Regions from separate parts of the Homo sapiens genome. Here region 1 is linked to region 2. Evidence: promoter capture Hi-C in human tissues and cell types (Jung and others, 2019). All regions are on one chromosome and are shown on one strand. Each heading gives the region's core, a stretch centred on a gene start or on the middle of the fragment in contact. The rest is flanking DNA. Distances are from core to core; before and after follow the strand shown. Region 1 overlaps CAP1 (cyclase associated actin cytoskeleton regulatory protein 1). Region 2 holds the start of COL9A2 (collagen type IX alpha 2 chain).

Region 1 (6,928 bases), core at 4,248-6,747, 270 kb after region 2:
GGCACGATCTCAGATCACTGCAACCTCCACCTCCCGGGTTCAAGCAATTCTCCTGCCTCAGCTTCCCGAGTAGCTGGGACTACAGGCACCTGCCACCACGCCCGGCTAATTTTTTGTATTTTTAGTAGAGACGGGGTTTCACCATGTTAGCCAGGATGGTCTCGATCTCCTGACCTGGTGATCCGCCCGCCTTGGCCTCCCAAAGTGCTGGGATTACAGGCGTGAGCCACCATGCCTGGCCAATTTTTTGTATTTTTATTAGAGACGGGGTTTCACCGTGTTAGCCAGGATGGTCTCAATCTCCTGACCTGGTGATCCACCTGCCTCGGCCTCCCAAAGTGCTGGGATTACAGGCGTGAGCCACCGCGCCTGGCCAGCATCTTCCATTTTTCTGCTTTCAATTTTCTCCATGGAGGCCAACTTTTTTTCAATCACATTCAGGATAGATGAGACATATTTGGAAAGCAAATGTTTAAAATAAGGCTTCTCAGGCCAGGCATGATAGCTCACACCTATAATCCCAGCACTTTGGGAGGCCAAGGCAGGAGGATGGCTTAAGGCCAGAAGTTCAAGACCAGCCTGGGCAACATAGCAAAATCTCATCTCTTTTATTTAAATAAATAAATAAATAAGGCTTCTCCCAAACACAGAAGTATCAGAGCAGAGAACTGTATGTCTGCCTAATCTTGCTCCTTGCCATTTCTAATTGTCAATAACCAAGAACTATACGTAAACCTCCATAAATGAATGTCCGGATTCCCAACTACTTAAGCATTCATCATAAAAGCTTCAGAAACACAGGTGGTCAAAATTACACAAGTCCAAATAAAATTAGAAGACTGAGGCCTGAGTCCCAAGCTGTACATACTAACTGTGCAACTTTACACAGTCACATAATGGATTATAATCCTCATCTAGCATACACAGATATAAGGATCAAAGGAGGTGATTTCATAGATACGAGTAATCACTTCAGAAGCCTTAAAATGCAATTCAAATGTAAAATGTTAGCACTACATATTACGTACTAGAATATAGGCTCAAGAAGGATGGGAATTTATCCATTCTACCTCCTGCACTGACTCTATCTCCCAGCACCTAGAAAAACTAGGCACACAGAAGATGCTAATAAAATCAAAGTGCTTAGCATTGTGGGCCTACTGAAGAAATAGAAGACACATGGTCCCTCCCCTCCAGAAGCACTCATATTGGTTAAGACAACAAAATAAAATGTGAATGGAATAAATACTGTAGATTATATTTGTTAAAGTTTTTCTGCTTTTATTTAAAAAACAAAACAAAACAAAAAAAAACAGGCTGGGCGCGGTGGCTCACGCCTGTAATCCCAGCACTTTGGGAGGCCGAGGCAGGCGGATCACAAGGTCAGGAGATCGAGACCATCCTAGCTAACACTGTGAAACCCCGTCTCTAATAAAAAAAATTAGCCAGGCACGGTGGCAGGGGCCTATAGTCCCAGCTACTCAGGAGGCTGAGGCAGGAGAATGGCATGAACCCGGGAGGCGGAGCTTGCGGTGAGCCAAGATCGCGCCACTGCACTCCAGCCTGGGCGACAGAGTGAGACTCCATCTCAAAAAACAAAAAAACAAAACAAAAAAACCCCAAACAAACAAAAAACAGGGTCTGGCTCTATTGACCAGGCTGGAGGGCAATGGTGTGTTCACAGCTCACTGCAGCCTTGACCTCCTGGCTTCAGCCTCCTGAGTAGCTGGGACTACTGGGACTATAACTACATGCCACCATGCCTGGCTTTTGTGTGTGTGTGTGTGTATGTGTGTGATAGAGACAGAGTCTCACTATGTTGCTCAGGCTAGTCTCAAACTCCTGGGCTCAAACAGTCCTCTTGCCTCAGCCTCCCAAAATGCTGGGATTACAGATGTGAACCATGACAGCCAGCCTATATTTTTAAAAGTTTTATTATGGGAATATCCAGTTGGATTAGGGAAAGTTAAATTATCAGCCTATTCTTGCAGATTTTTCTTCACAGAATGTTGTTGCTACGGTTCTGAATTACATAAATTACTACATGCTCTGAGAGTTCAGAGGAAATCAATGAGGACTGGCGGTAGCTTGGTTTCAGGAGGGAAGTGAGGCATCTTGAAGAGGCAAGAGAAAAAAGGGAAGCCATTCCAGAGCAAGTCAAAAGCAAAAAAGGAGACCAAGCAGGCTATGTACAGAAAATGTGAGTGGGTTAGCCTGCATGGAACATGGAGTATTATAGGGAACAAGGATGCATGAGCAAGCTGGGCCAGATGATGGAGGGCACTGAAAGCCAGGGAAAATTTAAATTTGACGTTGTGATCAATGTGAAGCCATTCAAGGGTTTTGAGTGAAAGAATAATATGATGAAAGCAAAGAGCTTACAAGTACTGTCTGATAAACAGAATGGGATGTGGAGACAAGTGATGATATTAGGGTCTAGAAAGTTAGGTTAAAAGCTGTTATTCATCTAAAATAATGCTACTACAAAAGATATTTGTATTTATTTATTATTACTGTAATTTTTTGAGATGGAGTCTCACTCTGTTGCCCAGGCTGGAGTGTGATGGCATGATCTCAGCTCACTGCAACCTCCACCTTCCAGGTTCAAGCGATTCTCCTGCCTCAGCCTCCCGAGTAGCTGGAACTACAGGCATGCACCACCACGCCCGGCGAATTTTTGTATTTTTAGTAGAGACAAGGTTTCGCCATGTTGGCCTGGCTGGTCTCGAACTCCTGATCTCAGGTGATCCACCTGCCTTGGTCTCCCCAAGATATTTCAAAGGAAAAAAATCCACAATATTTGGTGTTTAACCAAATATTGGAACAAAATGAAAAGAATCAATTAACCTGTAAATAATCATCTTTAGGCAATTAAGAGACCAGCACCTGAATTAAGTGCTGTACAGAATATAAAAGAAAGGTAAAATAGTCTCCCTGTCCTAAGGGAGTCTAGCAGGAGAGACAAAGCTACCTTCTATCGACTCACTGGCTCTCAGGATTAGAGGGATTCTAGAAATCATCTTGTAAAAACACCATCTTATGCCAGAACAGTCCTTTCAATTAGCAATTAGTCAGGCAGCCTCTGCTCAAACACCTTCAGTGATGGAGAACCCGAGACTTCTGGAGGCAGTCCATTCCATTCAGACAGCTCAAAGTATTAAAAAGTTCTTCCTTATATGGAGGCAAATCTGCCTCCCTGCAACTTCCACCCACGAATCTTGGTTCTGCCCTAGGAGGTCATATGAAACAAGTGTGCATTAAACTGAGAACAAGTACTAACTGTATGGTACTGACTGTGAGCACAGCAGCATTCAGAGAAGGGAGGCAAAGATGACTCCTGATTTGCAAATATGGGGGCCTTAAGAGAATAATGACATTATAGGCAGAAATGGGTTGTGGCATGTTCTAGTTAGGGCAACAAGATGAGGTCAGTTTTGGATATGCTGAGTTTGAAAAGAAGACAAAGCTTCTAAGTGGAAATGACTAGTGAGTATTTAGAAATAAAGCCTAGGAAAGAATCAAGACTGGAGATAATGTTTGCAAATCATTGGCAAAGAACTGTCATGAAGTCATGAGAACAGACAAGCTTTTGGAGGGATATCATGCAGAGTAAAAAGAAACTATGAGCTTGATTCTCCAGCAATGTCTATTGTGGTTTGAAACCAAAAAACCAGGCCTGGCGCAGTGGCTCAGGCCTGTAATCTCAGCACTTAGGGAGGCTGAGGCGGGTAGATAACCTGAGGTCAAGAGTTCGAGACCAGCCTGGCTAAAATGGCGAAACCTCGTCTCTACTAAAAATACAAAAATTAACCAGGCATGGTGGTGCATGCCTGTAATCCTAGAAATCATCTTGTAAAAACACCACCTTCTGCCAGAACTGAGGCACAAGAATCTCTTGAATCCAGGAGGCGGAGGTTTGCAGTGAGCCGAGATCGCGCCACTGCACTCCAGCCTGGGCGACAGAGAGACACTCTGTCTCAAAAAAAAAAAAAAAAAAAAAAAAAATTAGAAATGGCTAGTGATTCCTGCCAAAGCTGCTTCACACTCTTATACTTCTAACAACTTAACCCAATTCCTTCTGCCTATTCAAGGAAGTCATTCAGAAGTAAATGGAACCAGGTTATGCGTGCAGTTCTTGTTGCATCCCACCAGGCAATTAAGACAGTAGCATGAATTTCTACTTGAGTAGGAAGTTGCTATGCTTGAAATGTTTTCTACTTTGTCCCACAGTTGTTTTTCTAAGTCATCATCCTTAGGTAAAATTGAAAATAAAGCACCCATACAAATCAGCCTGTCTACTATGGTAGCCCAATTGATTTGCTTCAAAATGCTTCTCTTAATTTTGTAATCCTGTTCCTGAGGTTTTATCCTAAGAAAGTAAATCATAATGTGAGAAAAGTGATAAGCATGGAGATGTTTGCTGCAATGTTAGATCTATTGATCTATCTATATCTATCTTGGACTTCTAATTATAGGGGAATAGCTAAATGAAGTGTGGAAAAAAACTTGAACGCAAAATTTACAATATTTGTCACATTTGGGTGATGGGTTTTTGACAATTTCTACCTGTTTTCCAAACTTTCTTTTAACATATAATATTTTATAATAATAATAAAAATCTCTACTTGACTATCCCTTCTAAATTACCACTAAACTATGTAGTAGTTAGTTCTACTTCTAATGAATTCTTATCACGAGGTTTTAACATGTCACAAAGTAAAACCTACACATGCTACCAGAAGATACAAGTTGGCTTGTTTAACACAGAAACCAAATAACAGGCACCACTTTGCCCCAGTAAAGATGCCATTTAGGCCAGGTGCAATGGCTCATGCCTGTAAGGCCAGGTGCAATGGCTCATGCCTGTAATCCCAGCGCTTTGGGAGGCTGAGAAGGGCAGATCACCTGAGGTCAGGAGTTCGAGACCAGCCTGGCCAACATGGCAAAACCCCGTCTCTACTAAAAATACAAAAATAAAAAAATTAGCCAGGCGTGATGGTGGGTGGGTGCAATGGCTCATGCCTGTAATCCCAGCTACTCAGGAGGCTGAGGCAGGAGAACTGCTTGAACCCGGGAGGCGGAGGTTACGGTGAGCCAAGACAGAGCAAGACACCATCTCAAAAAAAAAAAAAAGATGCCATCTAAATCTAACCCAAATCAGGAGCCACTGTTCTTCTCTAAGCATTTGGTTTCACTGATTAAACCAATGACATTTAGTGCCTGAGTCACTGCCACCCGAGGTTTAGATTTTAAAAGAAAGGCCTATCTTCTACGGAGGGAAGGAATCCAACCCAACATCAACACCTGTCTCCTGTTCCCTCCTTACACATGTCCTCTACCTGAAACTCCAGGAGTGAGTAAAGTTAGTGTATAAAGTGAAATTAGACTTGGGAACTAGCTGTTTCAATGTCTGGAGCAAACAGGTAACTTTGTGTGGTCATGGGTTCTCTTCTCTCCTACGTTCAAAGAATATTATGAAGACTAATTGCACAGAGCACTCGGCAGTCCCTTTCTACTTCTACATGTTTTATAGCGTGTAAGGGAAAACTGCATTGGCTGATTTCAGCCTGAATAGTTGCTTTAATAAAACAGCATTTCCCACTCTAATATATAAAGATGGATTCAAGGATGACGTTTGTCCTTAGCCATGATTCATCTACAAGTAGGAATATGGAAAGACTGTAAGTCTATAATTAACTAAAGTATAGGAATTTCAATGCCCTCTGGAGGAAAAAACAAAACAAAACAAAGCAAGTCTGCTCCTTCCATTAAACATTTCAACTATTTTCCAGCCAAATGGAAAAGTTTGGCACAAAAGGTCTGGTAATACAAGGCAAACAAAGCAGCACTGTAGCTGAGGCATATTTTTAGAACTTTGTTTTTATCAGGTTAACATATAGTACATCAAGAAATAATTTCATGGTGAATGCTGTAGCTGCATTAATTTAAAATTATGAAACTACAGTCATGCATTACATAATGACATTTTGGTCAATGGATGGACCACAAAATCAACAGTGGTCCCATAAGATTATATGGGATTATATGGGGATTAATCAACACAAAATCCCATAAGATTATAATACCCTATTTTTACTGTACTTTAAAAATGTGGCCGGGCGCGATGGCTCATGCCTGTAATCCCAGCACTTTGGGAGGCCAAGGCTAGCAGAACACAAGGTCAGGAGTTTGAGACCAGCCTGGCCAATATAGTTAAACCCCATCTCTACTAAAAATACAAAAATTAGCTGGGCGTGGTGGTGCGCACCTGTAGTACCAGCTACTCAGGAGGCTGAGGCAGAAGAATTGCTTGAACCCAGGAGGCGGGGGTTGCAGTGAGCCAAGATCGTGCCACTGCACTCCAGCCTGGGCGACAGAGTGAGACTCCGTCTCAAAAAAAAAAAAAAAAAGTTTAAATAAACAAATACTTACACTGTGTTACAAACTGCCTACAGTATTAGATACAGTAACATACTATACAGGTTTGTAGCCCAGGAGTAATAAGTTACACCATGTGCAGTATCATCTAAATTTGTGCAAGTACACTCTATGATGTTCCCACAATGATGAAATCACCTAATGACAAATTTCTCAGAATGTACCTGTCATTAAGCAACACATGACTGTATAATTTTATCAACTAAAATAAATGTGAATAACTCCATAAACTATATGCAACTTTAGTGTTTGTTTGTTTTTTTTTGTTTTGTTTTGTTTTTTTGAGACGGAGTCTTGCTCTGTCACCCAAGCTGGCGCAGATCATGCAGTGGCACGATCTTAGCTCACTGCAACCTCCACCTCCCCGGGTTCAAGTGATTCTCCTGCCTCAGCCTCCCTAGTAGTTGGGATTACGGTACATGCCACCACACCCAGCAAATTTTTGTAATTTTAGTAGGGACGGGGTTTTACCATGTTGGCCAGGCTGGTC
Region 2 (7,251 bases), core at 3,505-6,004:
GCCCTCAATTAATTTGTTCAAGAATATAGTTTTGGTATGCTGATATAGAAATCTAAGTTGAATTTTTTTCTGAATATATGGCCAATTACCTCAACATCTAGTCTACCCTTTCCTCACTGCTCTTGAATTTAACCTTTATCATAAACTAAATATATATACTTTCATCATAGATTTCAAATATTATATATATATACATCTATGTTGCCCAGTCTTGAAATCTTGGGCTCAAGGGATCTTCCCACCTTGGCCTCCCAAAGTGCTGGGATTACAAGCATGAGCCACCATACCTAGCCATTTGTTTTTAAGTTTCTATTTTTATTTTTTGTGTTTTTAGAGACGGTCTTGTTCTGTCACCCAGGCTAGGATGTCATGGCTCAATCATAGCTCACTGCAGCCTCAAACTCCAGGGTTCAAGTGATCCTTCCACCTCAGCCTCCCAAGTAGCTGGGAGACACCACTACACCCTGCTAATTTTTTTTTTTTTTTTTGTAGAGAAAGGGGTCTCACTGTGTTGCCCCAGCTGGTCTTGAACTCCTAGCCTCAAGTGATTCTCCTGCCTGAGCTTTCAAGAGTACTGAGATTACAGGTATGAGCCACCACACCTGGCCAACATGGAGTTTTCTTATACAGAAATGTAGATATATGACTCTCCACTTATTCAGGGTCTCCCTGTGCTTTAAGAGTCCTATGCAAGAAGTACCTACTGAGGAGGCTGAAGTGGGAGGATCACTTGAGCCTTGGAGGTCAAGGCTGCAGTGAGCTAAGATTGTGCCACTGCACTCCAGCCTGTTTCCAAAAACAAACAAACACCCATATGCAATTGGCTGGAACCTCCAGTCCATGTCTTGTGGTCCAAAGCCTTCCCTAAAATTTATATATATATATATATATATATATATATATATATATATATATAATTTTTTTTTTTTTTTTTTTTAGACAGAGTTTCACTCTTGTTGCCCAGGCTGGAGTGCAGTGGCGTGCTTTCAGCTCACCGCTACCTCCACCTCCCAGGTTCAAGCTATTCTCCTGCCTCAGCCTTCCTGAGTAGCTGGGATTACAGGCATGCACCACCATGCCCGGCTAATTTTGTATTTTTAGTAGAGATGGGGTTTCTCCATATTAGTCAGGCTGGTCTCAAACTCCCGACCTCAGATGATCTGCCTGCCTCGGCCTCCTAAAGTGCTGGGATTACAGGCGTGAGCCACCTTGCCTGGCCTAAAATTTATCTTGATTGGCTCCAGCTTTAAGCTTCAGCTACCACTGGATTGGTTCAGTTTATAACCCCAAGTGTGGCAGGATGTATTTTCCAAAGATGGTTGCATCAATAATAAAAATTGCATCCCCAGGCTGGGTGCAGTGGCCCACACCTGTAATCCCAGCACTTTGGGAGTCCAAGGCAGAAGGATTGTTTGAGCCCAGGAGTTCAAGACAACCTGGGAAACATGACAAGACCCTGTGTCTACAAAATATAAAAAATTAGCTGGGTGCATGGCTGGGTGCAGTCGCTCACGCCTGTAATCCTAGCACTTTGGGAGGCCGAGGTGGGCAGATCACTTGAGGTCAGGAGTTGGAGACCAGCCTGGCCAATGTGGTGAAACCCTGTCTCTACTAAAAATACAAAAATTAGCCAGGCATGGTGGCAGGCGCCTGTAATCCCAGCTACTCGGGAGGCTGAGGTAAGAGAATTGCTTGAACCCGGGAGATGGAGGTTGCAGTGAGCCGAGATCACACCACTGCACTCCAGCCTGGGCAACAGAGCAAGACTCTGTCTCAAAGTAAAATAAAATAAAATAAAAAATTAGCTGGGTGCAGCGGTGCATGCCTGTAGTCCCAGCTACTCAGGAGGCTGAAGTGGGAGGATCAGGAGCCCAGGAACTTGAGGCTACAGTGAGTGGTGATTCCTCCATTGCACTTCAGCCTAGGTGACAGAGGGAGACCTTGTCTCAAAAGTAAGAAAGAAAGAAAGACATAAATAAATAAATTTTATCCCTTATTCTCTTCTTAAAATGTGACACTGGCTGGGCGCGGTGGCTCATGCCTGTAATCCCAGCACTTTGGGAAGACAAAGCGGGCAGATCACGAGGCGGGCGGATCATGAGGTCAGGAGTTCGAGACCAGCCTGACCAACATGATGAAACCTCATCTCTACTAAAAAGACAAAAATTAGCCGGGAGTGGTGGCGTACGCCTGTAATCCCAGCTACTCCAGAGGTTGGGGCAGGAGAATCGTTTGAATCCAGGAGGCGGAGGTTGCAGTGAGCTGAGATTGCGCCACTGCACTCCAGCCTGGGTGACAGGGCAAGACTCCATCTCAAAAAAAAAATTAAAAAATGTGACATTAACATTCATCCTTGAGGTGGGGTCTCTGTTCCCTCCCCTTGATCATGGGCAGACCTTTGCAATTGCCTCAACAGTAAGAATGTGGTGAAGGTGCCACTGCATGACTTCCAAGGACGGGTCCTGAGTGGCAATTCTCTTCAGTCTGGTGCTCTCCTACTCCCTCTGAGCTGCTATAGAGGATGTTCAGCTACCTTGAAGCTGCCATGTTGGAGAAACTTCATGGAAAGCCCACAAAGAGATAAAGGAGAGAACTGTCCAAGCAACTCCAGCTGTTCCGGCCCCAGCGGTTGAAGGCTTCCCAGTACTGACATCAGACATGTGAGTGAAGAAGCCTTCTAGGTGACATCAGGCCCAGCCACCATCTGACTATGACCTTATAACAGACCCCAGGCCAGACCGAACCAGCAGAGTCACTCTCAAATTCCTAATCCAAAGAAATTGTCATTTTAAGCTGCTGAATGTTAGGGTGATTTGTTATGGTGCAACAGGTAATTAATACATCAATGTGTGCTGTCCAGACTGTGAAACTCATCCTCTTTCCATAATTTCCACACACAAAAAGAAAACTTACTCACACAAGGCCTTTCTTGTGGTTAGCCCACAAAAGATGGAGAGATAAGTGATGTGAAACAAACAACTTAAAATTGAATTTGGACATCCCAGTTCTAAAAATCCTTTATAGGTTTACCCCACCCACCCCAAGCAATGCCCACCATCCCTCTCTTACATCCTCCTCCTCTTGCTCTCATCTTCCAACAAACTTCAAATTCTTCTTCACTCTGTTAGGCAGAGCAATTACATTCTCTCAAGCTCTTTCTCCCAAACTCAGCTCCAGGACAACCTTTCAAAATCCAGAGCCCTTTGCTAACCTGCCCAATGGAGTTGGACTTTTCTAGCTTCAACTAGGTTCATCATTTTAGCTGATCTGCCTGTGGCCAGCTTCCCCACATTGGATGCCAACCTAGTAAAACAGTCATCCATAAATCATAAGGAAAGCTAAAATGTATCAAGCACCTACTATGTGCTGGTTCGAGGTTAAATGCCTCGCATGAGTCATCTCATTCAATTTCCACAAAAACCCTTTAAGATAAGGACAATTTGCTGGGCACGGTGGCTCATGCCTGTAATCCCAACACTTTGGGAGGCTGAGGCAGGCAGATCACCTGAAGTCAGGAGTTCAAGAGCAGTCTGGCCAACATGGCGAAACCCCATCTCTACTAAAAATATAAAAATTAGCCAGGCATTGTGGCTCATGCCTGTAATTCCAGCTACTCGAGAGGCTGAGGCAGGGGAATCATTTGAACCCGCGAGGCGAGGTTGCAGTTAGCTGACATCGTGCCACTGCACTCCAGAGCCTTTTAAGACTCTGTCTTAAAAAAAAAATATATATATATATATATATGGACTATTAGTATCCCCATTTTACAGATGAGGAAAATGAGACTTCATAGAGTTTGGGGTGCCTGTGGTCATATCTATAATTGTGAAAAAGTCAGATTCCAAAGCATTTTACCAATATTGCCTAAGTGAGTGGGAGGGAAGGGAAGGCTCTCTGGAGTCGGGCTATGCTGGACAGCGGGGTTCGGAAACTCTGGTGAATAAAGTGGTAGTTGTTTCTATGAACATGGAGTGAGAAGGCCCAATCCTAAACACACCAGTGCTTAAGGCAGCTGCAGAGAATTAAAGGCAATAGAAAAAGGGGAGCTGGATGGCAGGAGCTTGGATGGGGAAGACTTCAAGGGCAGGTGAAGATGCCAACAGCTTCCTGCCTGGAGGACCGAAGAAGGGTTGGGCTTCACTGCAGACCTCCAGGAGACAGATTTGCTTGTTGGGACAGAGTAGGGAGGTGAAAGCGAGGTGAGGAAGTTCGGGGGTGGGGGAGGTGCACACAGCTCCACTAAAGAGCTGGAAGAGGCCGATGGAGTATTCATGAGACGGCTGATCCAGGAAGGACTGTGGCATATTAATATGGAAAAGGCCTGTTTGTTTGTGCTTGGAGAGGAAGGAGCCAGAGGAGAGGGGAGCAAGGTGGGCGGGAGCTGGGGAGAGCCTGCAGCAAGATCTGCAGAGCCCGAGGTGCTCTCGGCCTGGGCCCTGGAGAGGACGTAGGGTAAGTGATGGGGCACAGGCTGTGCGTCAGGGGGAAGGTGCTGGGGCCTGAAGGTCCCGAGGGGAACCTCAGACGGCCTTATGCCTTCTCACAAAGAAACTGGACCATCATCTCCGACCCGCACCCCGGTCGCCCCTCGAGGACAGAGGGTGGGCGCAGGAGGCTGGACCGAGCGGGGCGGAGCTGGATGCCTGGCGCCGGCCTCCCTCCCGGCAACCCCGCCGGTCCTCTCAGGTGACAGCTCACGCCGGCCCCCGCCCCGCCCCCCGCATATTCAGGAGCCCCAGCCCACCCTGCCCGCGAACAGCCAGCGCTGGAGGAGCGCCGGGAGACTCTGCCGTCGGTGCGTGCGCGGACACGCACCCGTCCCCCTTGGTCTCGCCGCCAGCCATGGCCGCCGCTACGGCCTCCCCCCGCAGCCTCCTTGTTCTCCTCCAGGTGGTAGTGCTCGCTCTGGCGCAGATTGTAAGTTTCGCAGCCCCTCCGCTGCCAGGGTCCAGGGTGCGGGGTCTGGAGTCCGGGATGGAGGAGCTCTGCCTGTGTCCCGCGCCTACTGACACCCCTAGCCCGAGAGGCCACCTGAGGACAGCGCCGCGGGCAGGTCCCCTCGGTGGGTGCATACATGGTGCCCATCGCGGCACCGTGAATGGAGGTGGCTGAGCCGGAGAGTCAAACGGGACCCGTCCCCAGACGCGCGGCCCGGCCCGGGACAGGCAGCGTGGGGCAGGAGCTGGCGCCCGGTCCTGGCAGCCCGGGGAGCCCAGGTGGCGGGGCATACAATGGTGCTCATTCACCCGCTGCGCAGCCTCCGCCCCCGCCGCCTCCCAGGGGGCGCCGGCTCCAACCAGACGCCGCTGTCGCCCCGAGGCGGCCTCTCGGCCCTGCCCGCCTACCCACGTCTCCCTTCCGAGGGCCGCCGGGGGCTGCGGGCGCGCGGGTAGGGCAGAGACTGGGCCCGGTCGGGTGCTGGGTGTGGTTTCGAGCTCGCCTGCGGGGCGCCAGCCTGGCACTTCGCGGCCTGGGGAGGTCGTGGGCACCGGGACCCCTGCCTGGGTCCGAGCTGGCCTCTTAAAAGGGCCGCCTTTTAAGATCTCTGATCTGTTCAGAGATGGGCAGCAGGATGGAGACTCTCCAGCTGTGAGCTCGCCTCATCTTGATATGACTTGTGACCTCCCTGAAACCTCACACCCACCCAGGGGCATTGAATTGCAGGCAAACGGGATCCAGAGAGAGGGTCTGCTTTCTGGGAGGTGCCGGCTCCTCCTGCTCCCCTGCAGCAGTCAGGGCTTAGCAGAGGGAGGACCGGGCAGCTGTGCTGCCGAAGGGGCGCTCCGAGTGGGAAGATAGTACCCGCTTCACCTCCCTACACCTCCTTTCTCTGCGCCTCCCCCACTTTCCCGTCGGGTTTTCCCGCACCATGGGGAGAGGAGGAGGCGCTGTCTCTGCCTGTCGTTCACGTAAGAACAACAACCCGAGCCACCGCTCACTGAGGGCCGGCAGCCTGCTAGGCACAACCTTACATTCCATCTGTGATTTATTTGAGCTGTCCACGTCTCCATCTATTCCCCACCGCGACCGCGCAAGGGCAAACTGGCACAGTGGAAGGAGTCGGGCAGATCCAGGGCGGACTCCTGGCGCCGCCGCCCACTCTCAGTGACCATGGACCCTTCACGTTCTGAGCCAGTTTCTTCGACTGCAAACTGGGGCCCGTAATAGCGCCCGCCTCCCGGTTCTGAGTATTCTGTAAGATAATGAATGCATGTAATGGCACACAGTGCCTGCTATACAGAAGATTCTCAATACGTGGGAGTTCGCGGAAGAGCTGCGCCCCTAGGACCCCGCTCCCAGGGTCGCTTGCAGCCCCGGGGACGCCCAGCTTCCTGCACTGTCTGAGGACTGCCCCACCCCGTGTGTGTTTTTCAGAGAGGTCCACCGGGAGAGCGGGGCCCCCCGGGTCCCCCGGGACCGCCGGGAGTGCCTGGATCCGACGGCATCGACGTAAGTCTCTAACCTGAGACCAGGGCGGGAGGGAGGCGGCAGACAAAGGAGAACTTTGTGAGCGCTGTGGTGGGGGTGGGGACTTCGGGGTGCCCGGAGATGTAGTGCCCCTCGTCGCCAATAGGCGGCGCCGGCCCGCACCACAAGGACGCCGTTTGTTCTGCAAAAACCTCAAACCAGCCCTGACATGCGGAGCCCGTTATAGCCGCCGACAGACAAGGAGCTGCTGTTCAGTCCGCCGGCCGCAGCTCACAGCGAGGCCTCATCCCCCTCCTCTCCTTTCCCCTCCTTGTGGGGTAGGAGGCGACTCAACCCCTCACCCTGCCTCTGGCACATCTGGACGCTTCTTCAGGTTCGCTTGGGAGCCTTGGCCAGACCACCGACCAGCTTGGGCCAGACTCCTGTCTCTTCCCTTCGGTTTTCTCTCCCCGATTTAGAATCAGCTGGGCTTGTTCCCTGCAGGGTGAGGGTTAAATACCTCATTCTGAAAGCTCCCGCAGGAGGGCCGCTTGATGTTTACCAGTCTGGACAGACTTCTATTCAACCTGGTGCCCCCACCCCCCAAACACAGGATGCTGGGCCCCCGGCCAGGCCCTGGCTGCTGAGGGCTCTGAAATGCCTGGAGGCCTCTCTGGGGCTGAATCGCACTCTACCGGCCCTGCCTGCCCACCACCAAGGGTCCTTTGGCACTGGAAGGAGGTCCTTCCCTCCTTGGGAACACTGAATTTCCCCCTTGCAGTCCCCCTTGGTCCTTGCCACTGGCTCAGCTTCCCGTTCTCCTGCCCTGCAGTCTGGAATAGA

The links. Contacts are between HindIII fragments. The study calls those that stand out against the background at their distance.
Region 1: a contact is called between a fragment that was not itself captured here and the fragment with the promoter of COL9A2 in region 2, in 1 of the 25 tissues and cell types used here (bladder).

Annotation. Positions count from the first base shown.
Region 1 is chr1:40,046,256-40,053,183 of GRCh38, reverse strand. The region is part of intron 1 of CAP1 (cyclase associated actin cytoskeleton regulatory protein 1); the gene reads right to left. Among named protein-coding and RNA genes, the nearest start is that of CAP1, 9.0 kb to the right of the region's middle. RefSeq lists an enhancer at 1-133. The HindIII fragment of the contact is 3,941 bases long and covers 3,527-6,928 here.
Region 2 is chr1:40,314,789-40,322,039 of GRCh38, reverse strand. COL9A2 (collagen type IX alpha 2 chain) reads left to right here and starts at 4,754. Exons shown (of 32, transcript NM_001852.4): 1 at 4,754-4,917; 2 at 6,376-6,450. The coding sequence starts at 4,843. RefSeq lists enhancers at 4,623-5,259, 5,260-5,896, 6,680-6,939 and silencers at 5,070-5,579, 6,340-6,439, 6,450-6,509. The HindIII fragment of the contact is 32,999 bases long and covers 1-7,251 here.